Regions from separate parts of the Homo sapiens genome. Here all the other regions are linked to region 1. Evidence: promoter capture Hi-C in 16 types of primary human blood cells and fetal thymus (Javierre and others, 2016). All regions are on one chromosome and are shown on one strand. Each heading gives the region's core, a stretch centred on a gene start or on the middle of the fragment in contact. The rest is flanking DNA. Distances are from core to core; before and after follow the strand shown.

Evidence for each region. The method cuts DNA at HindIII sites, captures the fragments that hold promoters and counts their contacts. A CHiCAGO score of 5 or more calls a contact.
Region 2: a fragment that was not itself captured here is called in contact with the fragment with the promoter of NPY5R in region 1 in 1 of 17 cell types (megakaryocytes); the score reaches 6.1 in megakaryocytes.
Region 3: a contact is called between a fragment that was not itself captured here and the fragment with the promoter of NPY5R in region 1, in 4 of 17 cell types (endothelial precursors, erythroblasts, M1 macrophages and 1 more). The highest score is 8.6, in endothelial precursors.

What each region holds. Positions count from the first base shown.
Region 1 is chr4:163,341,998-163,345,665 of GRCh38, reverse strand. NPY5R (neuropeptide Y receptor Y5) reads right to left here and starts at 1,774. Exons shown (of 4, transcript NM_006174.4): 1 at 1,666-1,774. It also overlaps a transcript of NPY1R not described here. The HindIII fragment of the contact is 4,145 bases long and covers 1-2,129 here.
Region 2 is chr4:162,469,223-162,472,890 of GRCh38, reverse strand. No RefSeq gene overlaps it. Among named protein-coding and RNA genes, the nearest start is that of FSTL5, 310 kb to the right of the region's middle. The HindIII fragment of the contact is 931 bases long and covers 1,139-2,069 here.
Region 3 is chr4:162,509,666-162,513,333 of GRCh38, reverse strand. No RefSeq gene overlaps it. Among named protein-coding and RNA genes, the nearest start is that of FSTL5, 350 kb to the right of the region's middle. The HindIII fragment of the contact is 2,348 bases long and covers 575-2,922 here.

The DNA of each region.
Region 1 (3,668 bases), core at 525-3,024:
ATTTTTATGCAACATATTTTATCTATTATAAAAGTAATGATATATGTGAATCTTCTGAAATTGCTATATAAATTATGAAATATAGCCAGAGAAAAAATATTTTAACATGGAATATTATTTGACAAGAAATCTGATATTGACAGCATGAGACTTTTGTCATACCTAATTACTATATTTACTCATTCTCTTTTGTATTAGTTGTATCTCCCACCATCAGAATTTCCAGGCTGAAACACAGAACTTTAATCTCTGAGTAAAAAGTGTGAAAAATAAAAGTTCTTTATTAAACTATGGCAACTTATAAAAAATAATATCTTTTTAAAGGTTTACTGGAATTTTCTTATAAACTCTTCTATATCTGACACCTAGACAAATGAAACCTTCTGAATAGATTTTAAGTATTTTAAGAAAGTAGATAGTTCTCAAGAATAATAGGAGGAACTGCAGGGAATTCAAAGGATATTAAAAGTCTGACTTGTACATTTAAATAAGGTTTCTTTGTTTGAATAATTTTTTGCTTTATGAAAATACACATCATTCTTTTCACAAAGGATGACAATCACACAAAAGAATAAAATATATGTAATTCTTTTTCCTCCTGCAATGATACAATATCAACTATTGTCTGTTTTGCTGTGATCGTGGAACAGCAGCATGATTCCATGTTCTCAAATATTCCCATGGTTTGTTCTTAAAGCCAGAATCTGGCACAATTTGAATTGGAAAGATAAATACAGCTCTGCTCAGCTGACAAACACACAGGCATGCACCACCCTCCCTTCCAAATTCTAACAGCAGAGTTTCTCTTCCCTTGAGAAATCTGAAATCTAAAATTGCATTCGGACTGCAAAATTCTGCTGAAAGAGCCTTAGGCTATTTTCCATGGTCTAAGGTAAAATCGTTTTGGCTTTGGTCCAACACAACGCCTCAGTTCCTTTAAAAGATTAACTAAAGGTCTGTGAACTTGGAAAAAAGAATTCCCGTTTCTGGAATTCGAGTTCTATGGATGTTTGTTATTGCTCGCATTTGTTATATGAAGACACCTCGCAAACAGGAGCGCAAACCTTAGAGCGCAGCTGCCTCCCGGGCTCGGGTCAGCGCTGGACCGCGCGGCAGCTGGACGGCCTGAGTGGCGCCCCGCGGGCTGCGCCCCCGGCCTCGCCAGAGACCCGCTAGGGTTGAGCCCTGACCCGGGCACCCCGCGGGCTGCTGTTCCCAGCTCCGGATGCCAGCCGGGCTGCAGCCAGAGCGCGTCCAGCCGGGGGCAGCGCTTTGTCCATCCCCCGCCCCATCCCCAGGAGGCTCCTTCGCGGATCCCCGACACTCTCCTCCCGGGTTCGGCCCGCGCCTGCTCCACCCGGGTGAGTTGGGAACCGGAGGGACCTGCTCGGCACGAAAGAATTCAGCCCAGTACCCTCTCCGCTGTCTCTTCACTCCTGACAAGTGCCTGTTCCGCCACCCTAATCCCCATTTTTCCAGCCGCGCTCCCTTCACCTTCCCCACCCCGCTCTCTTGGGACCCCCGACAACGCCCTGGCACCAGAGACGGGTGCGGGCTCCCAGGGACCTGCGCAGACTCGCAGCCCGCGCGGGGACCCGCCACGGCCCCTCGGTGCAGGCCTACCCGGCGCGAAAGGGGTTGGCAGGGAGGGGCGGGAGCCCGTACCTCGGGGCGCCCCGGCCGCTGCAGGCCCTGGGCTCCCGGGAGCGCGGCCCAGCGCGATCGCTCCTGCACCCCGGCGGTGGCGGCAGCAGCGGGAGCAGGACCTGGAGGCGGCGGTGGGGAAGAGGGGGCGGGGGTTTAACGGCGTCTCGAGAACACGTGACTGTTCCGGGGACCCCCGAGACCCTGCTCCAAGGCGCCTGCTCCGCGCCAGCCTCTTCCAAAGCCGGGGGCCGGGGGCGTCCCAGACCTACGCCGCTGTTTGGGCGCTCTAGGGAGAAGCCACAGGGCCCCGGGATGTCGTCCCTTCACCCTGGCCTCGGGTCCCAGGCCGACCAAGTTAACTTGATGGGCAAATCGAGTTTTGCCGGTCCAGCCCTCAACCCTGTGTAGTGAACTCTGAGAAGTCTTGGACTGGTGTGAGGATGGCTGTGCCCCTAAGTTCTTAGTATTCCTGAGAACAAGCTTCGACTCTCAGGTTTTATCTTTGTTTGGGGTGGGGGACGGTGGGGGGTGGTGTGGTGATAGAAAGAAAGAAAGAAAAAAGACAAAACACTGCTCTTCCTTTGCACCTCTTTGAAGTAAGGAAGAGTGGAGGTGGGGAGGCTGACCCAATGTTCAGGAGAGGCAACAGCGTCTGCGGTAATGAGCCCAGCAGAATAGAAGGGAAGTTTCCCCACTCCAAGGAGTGGCAGCTGTGGGTGTGGGCAAGTGGCAGGAGCAGGGGAGTGAAGCTGAAATGAAATCAACGCTGCTCAAGACTATATTCAATAGCAAAGAGAAGACGAAGGGCTAAAAACGAATTGTCACAGGTTAAAAAAAAAAAAAGACGGGAAAAAAGCCCACACAAAAGAAGAAGAGAAAACCTGTCCTTCTGTTCCTTCCCAACATGATTTCCATCCCTAATGTTTCCAAATCTGTATTGCGCAGGTTTGCTTTATTTTTAGCTAATCATTAGGTGGCAGGTACTTTAGGCGCGCGCGCGTGTGTGTGTGTGTGTGTGTGTGTGTGTGTGTGTGTGTCTGTGAGAGAGAGAGAGAGAGAGAAGGAGAGAAGGGAGAAAAGAGACATTGGGTAGATGTCCATGTGTCTTTGGACATAGCTTTACCATGAGAAAGGGTGTAGTTATTGTACCCTTTAATACTGAGAACTATTATGTAACAGACAGCATCTCCTGCTGAGTAGAGTCGTGTGGGATAAACCGAAGAGAACTGTACCCCTTGGGAGCAATGTGACTTGTAATTCTAACATCTGGGGCAGACATCACTGTTACAGAAGAGGTCAAAGAAAATTTTTTGTGTCCCCTTTCTGCTGGATTTCAGCATTCAATACTCAGGGGATCTGTATAGATTGCTATTTCATCAGTCAAAGAGTCATCCAAGAGCTTTTAAAGAACTCAAGTAAACACAGTTCCTGTTTTATTCTTCTGTGTGTTATTTCTGAAATATTAATATATTCTCCCCAAAAGCTTAACAGAATAGGCCGTCTGAGCAGGCACCTGGGATTCTGCAGTAAGGAGTAGGGGATGAAAGTGTCAAGAAGGGATGACCTTGAGAAAATAAGGCTTGTTTTTTAGACTTTCTTAACTCCACTGTCTCTGCGGTTAATGCAGTACACATTGCCACATAAATTTCTATCTTTCCATCTCTTGCACAGTCATAACATGTACACTTCAAATACACATTGTCTTTAAAACAAATTCCAAGTGAACCCCATTGTGACTTTCAAAACACTAGTCTATGCTACAGGCTTTTGCATATTAAAAGTATTAAAAAATCTTATTTTTTATTTTCCACAAATTTGTTTTCTATTTTGATGATATGAACCTTTAGGTTGAAGTCACTGTTATTAGAGTATTGAAAATAAAAGGCTACCTGCCACTGATACAAAGATTCTAATTAACCTGGCTATTTTCCCTTCCCACTGCACCCACAAACAAGCAAGTCTCAAAAACAGGAGTTGGCATTTCTTCTTTAAATACACGTGACAATACACAGTATTAAGAA
Region 2 (3,668 bases), core at 355-2,854, 870 kb after region 1:
TCTATTTTTGGTAGTTTATGTTTCCCTGCTAAGATTTTCTATAGTTTCATTTATTGCTAGAAATTTTTTAGCTCATTGAAGATCATTATAACAGCTATTTTAATATCATAGTCTGCTATTTACATGATCTCAGATTGGTTTCCCCTTTATTATCTTTTCTTTTTAGAATGTGGCACTTTTTATATTTCTTTATTTATTAAGCAATGTTGGTTTGTATCCTGAACACTGTGAATATTATTTTGTGAGGACTATAGTTTTTTTATATTTCTATAAATAATTCTGGCATTTTGAGGATGGCACCTCAGATCTCAAGTTTTTGTTTTTGTTTTTAAATTTTACCTGGGCTGTTAAGTGTGATTTTGGAGTCAAAAGGAAAAAATGACAGGGTTTATTAGGGGTACTTATCCTTGCTCTCTGCTTGATAGAATTCCCCTCCCCACCCAACCTATCACATTTTCCAATGGCTGTGGTTTTCCCTAAATGTGCCCTGTATTTCCGACCAGGCGCAGTGGTTCACGCCTGTAATCCCAGCACTTTTGGAGGCCGAGGCGGGCGGATCACGAAGTCAGGGGATAGAGACCTTCCTGGCCAACACGGTGAAACACCGTTTCTACTAAAAATACAAAAAATTAGCTGGGCGTGGTGGCAGGCACCTGTAGTCACAGCTACTTGGGAGGCTGAGGCAGGAGAATGGCGTGAACCCCAGAGGTGGAGCTTGCAGTGAGCCAAGATCGCGCCACTGCACTCCAGCCTGGGCCACAGAGCGAGACTCCATCTCAAAAAAAAAAAAAAAAAAAAAAAAAAAAAAAAAAAAAAAGTCCTGTATTTCTTCAAGTCAAACATAATCTGGGCTTTCTGTAGACGCAGTGCCAACTCCAGCCCATTCTGAAGCTGAAGGTCAATACATATAGGAAAGTTAACTCATGCATTTTTTTTTCTACCAAGGGTCATTTTCCTTCCACATTTTGCCAGCATGTGTTCATTTTTTATTTGCTTTTGGTATTTTTTATTTTGTCCATTTTTAGTTTGTATGTGTGGAAAAAGCCAATCTGGCATAAACTTACTTGTACTTACTAGGTACAGAACTCCAGTTATACGGTTTATGTTTAATAATTATGAAAATTAATTAATTAAAGCTTTAAATGTAGGACTACTGGTCCGATAAATCATAAAATTAAATTTTAAAGAAATCATTTGAAATAACATGGATTAATTTTGATTACTTTTTATGTCATCTCTGCCTGCCCTATAGTAGGTGTTCAGCAAAGACCCTTTGGACAAATTAGAAACCATCAATTCTAGCATCCTGTTGCTTAGGAATTCTAATCACTCTAAGTAGATGACGTGAAAAGGATGTGGTAGTTGAAGAGATAATAACTCTGCCCAGGTTTTCAAAGAGATTGATGGACTCTCCCTCCCGCATTATGGAGTGCTCAGCCTCTAATTACTCAACTGCCTATTTCTCACTCTTTTCCCTGAAAAGTGAGAAAAATTTTGCTAAGTGCGTGGGTTTTAGGTCCTTCATTTTCTGTATTATATGTAGATAATATACTCTTTTTAAAATTGTTTTTCATCAAATAATCTTATTTAAAAAAACTGTTTTGACTTCATTTAATTTTTCATACTTTGTTCAGTCACTCTGATTATTGCATGTATGTTTATTTGCTGTTTTACTAAACTACCCAATAACACACTTACAAGCATTAGGAGGGTAACTTACCAAAATAACTAATTTCCTCTATTATGTGTTGCTACTTGTTTCTTTTTTAAAGATTATCTTTATTTCCAAACTCTATAGACATATTTATTAATACTAGGGAACTTGAACAGAAACATCGGCTAGTCATACTTAAGAATAGAAAATATACAACATGTGCAGAATATGATGATTATTTAGCAATTAACACAATCTTATAAGGTCTTATTATGCTTTAAAAGTATGCTAAAATTTGCTCATTAATTTTATTTATAGACCTGTCTAAAACCTGTCACACAATTTCTATTACGGTGACTTGAAGCTACTAGGAGGAATTCAGTAGGCTTTATGGTTTAGGGACAATATTGAAGCTTTCAATTCTTTTATCCTTTCTTGTAGACCTGTAAAGAATATTACAAAGAGTGAGGGATTTGCAATTTACCAGGAAAGATCTCAGCCAAGTAACAAAAACAAGTTATTCTCTTGTGACTTGAAGAAACAAAGTGTATTATATTCACTAGTCCTTTCTCCCTATGTATTGCTTTTACAGGATTATATTATTTAAGATAAAGTGGTATTATTGTAAAGTATTCTGATAAGCCCTTTCTCTGGAGTCTACTCCCTGAGAAAGAATACATATCTTATTGTAGTTTCCCAGCATGTTCTTTAAGATATAAGACAGATATAAATCTAAACTCAAAAGAAATGTTAACTAAACTCTCAATCAGTACTTATCCTGTCAAATATCTTGCTAGAATTCTCAGTGCTAAGATTCGTCCTTTAATGGGGATTAGCAGAAACAGGCCTATTGAGTATTACATTATTTATCCTGTTATTATTCTTAAGACTTTGTTTATTGGTAACACTGTTATTCTGCTCTTTGATTTTCAACCAGCTCTTTAATGATCTCAGTTCCTCATTCATTTTTGTTAATGAAGGGCAAAAGGCAAGGGAAATGAATTTCCCCATAATACTTCACTCTTGCCTCTGGTGAATTGGCTTTTCCCATATTCATTGAAATGTGTTATCCCATTTATCTAAATATGTCAATGACTTGCAGAAGGGACTGCATCTGAATGTGACTTGGATAAACATGAGCTAGTAACCCAAAGCAAATGTCTTTACTTTTACTCTCTAGATATAATTTATTAGTATTAAATGACCTTTTATATTTTGAGAACATAAGTAGAGGAAAACAGATGCCACATGGAACATTTAAAAGCATAGATAAAGAAAGTAAAGCTAATGACAGGAAACATGTTATTTTGCTTTAGAATGCAAAGTTAGGAAACAAAAAGTCTGTGAGTGTGTGTGTGTGTGTGTGTGTGTGTGTGTACAGAACTAACGTTTTCTGGGAAAGTATCCCGTGCCAGACACTACTCCTATGTAGAATGTGCTTTTATTTTATCTTTTGTTTTACCATGTAACCCTCATAGTCACCTCTCTAAGAAGTGTGATTAAAAGAAGCAGATCCTCAAAGAAAATGTGCACTTAGACCTGGAGGCAGAATGTGTGGGATGGGAAGATATTTACTCTTTGTAGGTATAAAGCAGCTATAACGTCTTTCCTATTGTCTTTCAGAACCTAGAACAGACTAACACAGAGGAGAGGAAGGTCTTTGTAGAGACTTGATGACAACCAAATGTAAACATGTATGTTGTTTATTTCTTTTTGCCTTGATAAAACAGAAAACAGAGACATCCTGTTTCTGGGTCACCAAGCTCAGAGCTATTAGGACAAAAGAAGCAATTCTGTATCTCTCTTGCTGAAATCATTTTCTGCATTTAGTCTCAGATTGCTAATGGCCAGAGAGGCGAATTGTTTGTGCAGCTTTTAGAAATAAAGAATTGCTTCTCTATTGTCAGTTTTCCCACTAGATACTGCCTAAGAATGGGATTAACTACTAAATTGATATATGCCAATGGTAGTTGTGGATTAAAGTAAAATTCAGACAGACAAGAGTTCTTTAACA
Region 3 (3,668 bases), core at 499-2,998, 830 kb after region 1:
GCTCCAAAGTGTATCTCTTTGTGGACATAGGGAATTGAAAAGCAATGGCTGTGTTAACTAGCTATTTGGTTTGCTCAAAATTCTCATATCAAAACTCTTGTGAATTTGGATGCTGCTTCTATTTTTAATATATTGTTCTCTGTGACATTGGCATAGCATCATTCCATAGATTGCAGTGACCAGGAAAGCAATAGAAAGCTTTTGATTGCTACCTAAGAATCATTGTGAATAAATACATTCAAAAGAAAAGAAATCATTATCAAAGTTGAACACAAAGCTAAAGACATTATAACTTAAAGACTTTCCATTTTTGTGTAAAGCACTTATTTAAATTAGATTTATGTGGACCTTGAATAATCCATTTCCTTTCTGGAGTCCATTTGGAATTTTTTCTTTGGAATCTGCTATTTAAATTAAGGCTGTCAGGAAACGTTACCATGGTTACTTGCATCACCTGAGCCTGAAATGAGAGTTTTTGAATATTTTCATTTCTATGCTATCATCACTGCCTTATGTACAAGGCAATTATATCTTTGGGGGTTAATAATACATTTTACTACCTTTATATGAAGCTTGTTTATAACCCATTGAGATACTGCAAATGTACGCGTCCACTGAAAATGAAACTCTGTGTCCATTTCATTCACGTGGGAGACAGGATAGGAGAAAAGGGCAACTTAACTCCAGAGGATGATTTGAATTTGGCATTTTCTTAGGGGACAGATATACAGTGCCCATTGTTTCTTCTGTCTACTATTTTTAACATTTTTATTTTGCTTATTCTTTTCCGTTATTCTATCTGTAGTAAATAAAGACCTGCATCCTAGACCCTTAAGTTTAGATCCTTCTTGACCAACCCAAGAGCTTTATTCCTTAAATTATTCCTAAGTCTTTCCTCACAGTCCTACTAAATCTATTCCCTGTAAGATTCCTTAACTGAATGTGGCAAATAGCCAAACATGGCCAAAGTCCACAGCTAAAGGTGATGGCTAATAGATTCATTGAATTTCCACACTTGTTGACCAGATTTCTCTATATTTTAACATGCAGAGATATAATGAAAACACAATTCTTTATACAGAATAAAAATGTGATACTTCCCATAAGAGATTGACATTAAAGGTCTTGCATATCCTGTCTTTTAGAAATACACTTTTAATATCATTCTTTGTCCACCTCACCCTAACAAGATAAGATTCACCTCAAAAGCTCGGGCTTCATTGTGCAGGCTTCAGTTCTTGCATTCATAGCACAGTGGTGAAGTAGCCACTTGGAATCCAAATTGCCATCAAGGACAATTCTAAAGAAACGTCCAATAGTATAGTATGTCCTGTGTTCTTTCAATTTCCTCTTCCACAAAGCAGTGAATAAGGCTTAATGATCTTCATAAATTTTTATGGCATCAGTATTTGCAGAGAATTGGAGGATCCCCTTCCAAACTCAGAATTAACACAATGATAATATAATTATTATTTGCCTAGTAATTTATAAAGAATTGCTACATACATTACCACATTTTATCATAGACTCAACCCTAGGAAGCACATAGGACAAGAATGTTCATTATCTCCATCTTATATTTATGGAAAACAAAAATTTAGACATGGGACGTAATTTATCTGAGATTACATGATTGATCAGAATATGACCCCAAGGTGATTGATGATAAATCCCAAGAGCTGTCTCTTATATATTACGGTCCCTTCTCTTTAATCTCCACACCCAAGTCTAAAAAAGTAAATAACTTGTGCTTAGGATCTAAAATAGAACACAATGAGAAAAGTCAGGTATGTTTGTTTTTTCCTTTTCCTGACTTTTATTAGTGTTTTTTTTTCTCATTTAAAAATAAGTATACTTTTTCAATTCTTCTTCTAGGTAAAAATTAAAACACAAAATGCTCATTTGTTCTAGTTTTCTAATTTTGCATGTTTCTTTGTATGACAATGTCTATAATTAGAGTTTAATTCTATCCATCTATTCTGTTTTTATAGATAAGAATGTTTTATATATTTTTAAATCTGATTGAGTTTTTTTCATAAGGCACAAATCTCTTTGTCTAATTCACCTAATAATATAGGAAAAAGCCAGATTACCCCCAGAACAGTAGATGTTCAGATGTCTGACAGGCAATTTCCTGGAATAGCCCACCTCTGAGAGGATAAGCACACATGATACGCCAGATAGAAACAACTGAGTGGTGGCAGAGTACAACTAAACATAGCATTAGAGTAAGTGGCTGCATTAGTTACAGTCAACGGAAATTTCCAGAAAATAGGTCTAGGCTTTTAGTGAGAGTCTGTTCTCTAATTCTACTCAACGCATTAAATTCATTTTCCAGAAACTAATTTGAAGTTTCTCTATCCAAACATAATCTATAGAGATCTTTAAGCATTTTGGTGAATTTTGAAATTATTCTAAGAATGAATTGTATTGCCTTAATATAGCATAGTATTTAAAGGGCATATTTTCTGAGTATACTTTATATTGCCACTGACTGAAACATACAGTTATAATAGTGGTTCTTCCTCTTTTAGGTATATATTTATTCACTTTCCAGCAATATATACCAAAATTATGCTCTTATTAGTATTGTATTATTACAAAATTTGTTTCATAGTGTATATGTGCTTTTTATCCTTTTTATAAATTTAATGGTGTATAAAACCCACATTATAGCTCACATGTGCTTTAATCAGCAATGTATAAGAGCTATAATGATGAAGAGGAAATGGAAAGACCTTTGTGGAAGAAGAAATGGAAAGAACACAGGGCATATTTTCCCATAACCTCACTAAACTGGTATATTTTTGATATATTACATTTGTGAAGTGTAGGACATGATCTTTATTTTTTATTTTGCATTTCTGAACTCTGGAGGCATGAGGATCAGGTTTGCGGTAGTTCGGAAGGTCTGGAAAAGCTTTTCCAAGGAATTGCTGACCAAGCTGACACCTGAAGGGGTCAGGAGAGCTGATTCACTGAGGAGTGAGAACACTAGAGCACAGGCAGAAAGCACAGCACACATTCGAGAAACAGAAAGAAGGCCCCAAGGCCTGGAGCAAAGTCAGGAAGGGGCGCTTTGTTTAGATGAGGCTGGCAAGATAGCTCAGCCAAGGCCTGTCAATACATGGTGTTAGAGGCCATTTTAAGAACTGTGCTCTTTATCCAAGAACAATGAGAGACATTGAAGAGTTTTAAGCTGAGGGTGTGAGCATATTCTGGTTTGCCTGCCCAACACTGATTCTTCATGTGAGGATTAGGGTTGAATGTTGGAGGAAAAGAGTGAAAGCAATAAGGCTGGTTTTGATGCTCTTGCTGTGCTGATGATACAGCACTGCTCCCTGCCTTCTTTGCTCTCTATCACCACAAAAGAAAAGCCACCACAGCTGTGTACTCAAATGTGCACACCCTAGACCTTGCCATGACCTTGACCCCAACCCTTGCAATTTATTATCTCTTCCTATTCTTGTGATCCCACTCCAAAATTATTTGACCTCATTAAGACCTCCAATTCAGTGAACTTACCATTTTTTCACTATAATTCATAATCTATTATCCCTTTTATGGCTTCATATTTGTCACCCAACTGAGATTTCATGGTCCAGCACTATAATAATATCATGGAAAATTTTCTATTCTTTTTTCCTTCTGCTATTCACACCTGTCAG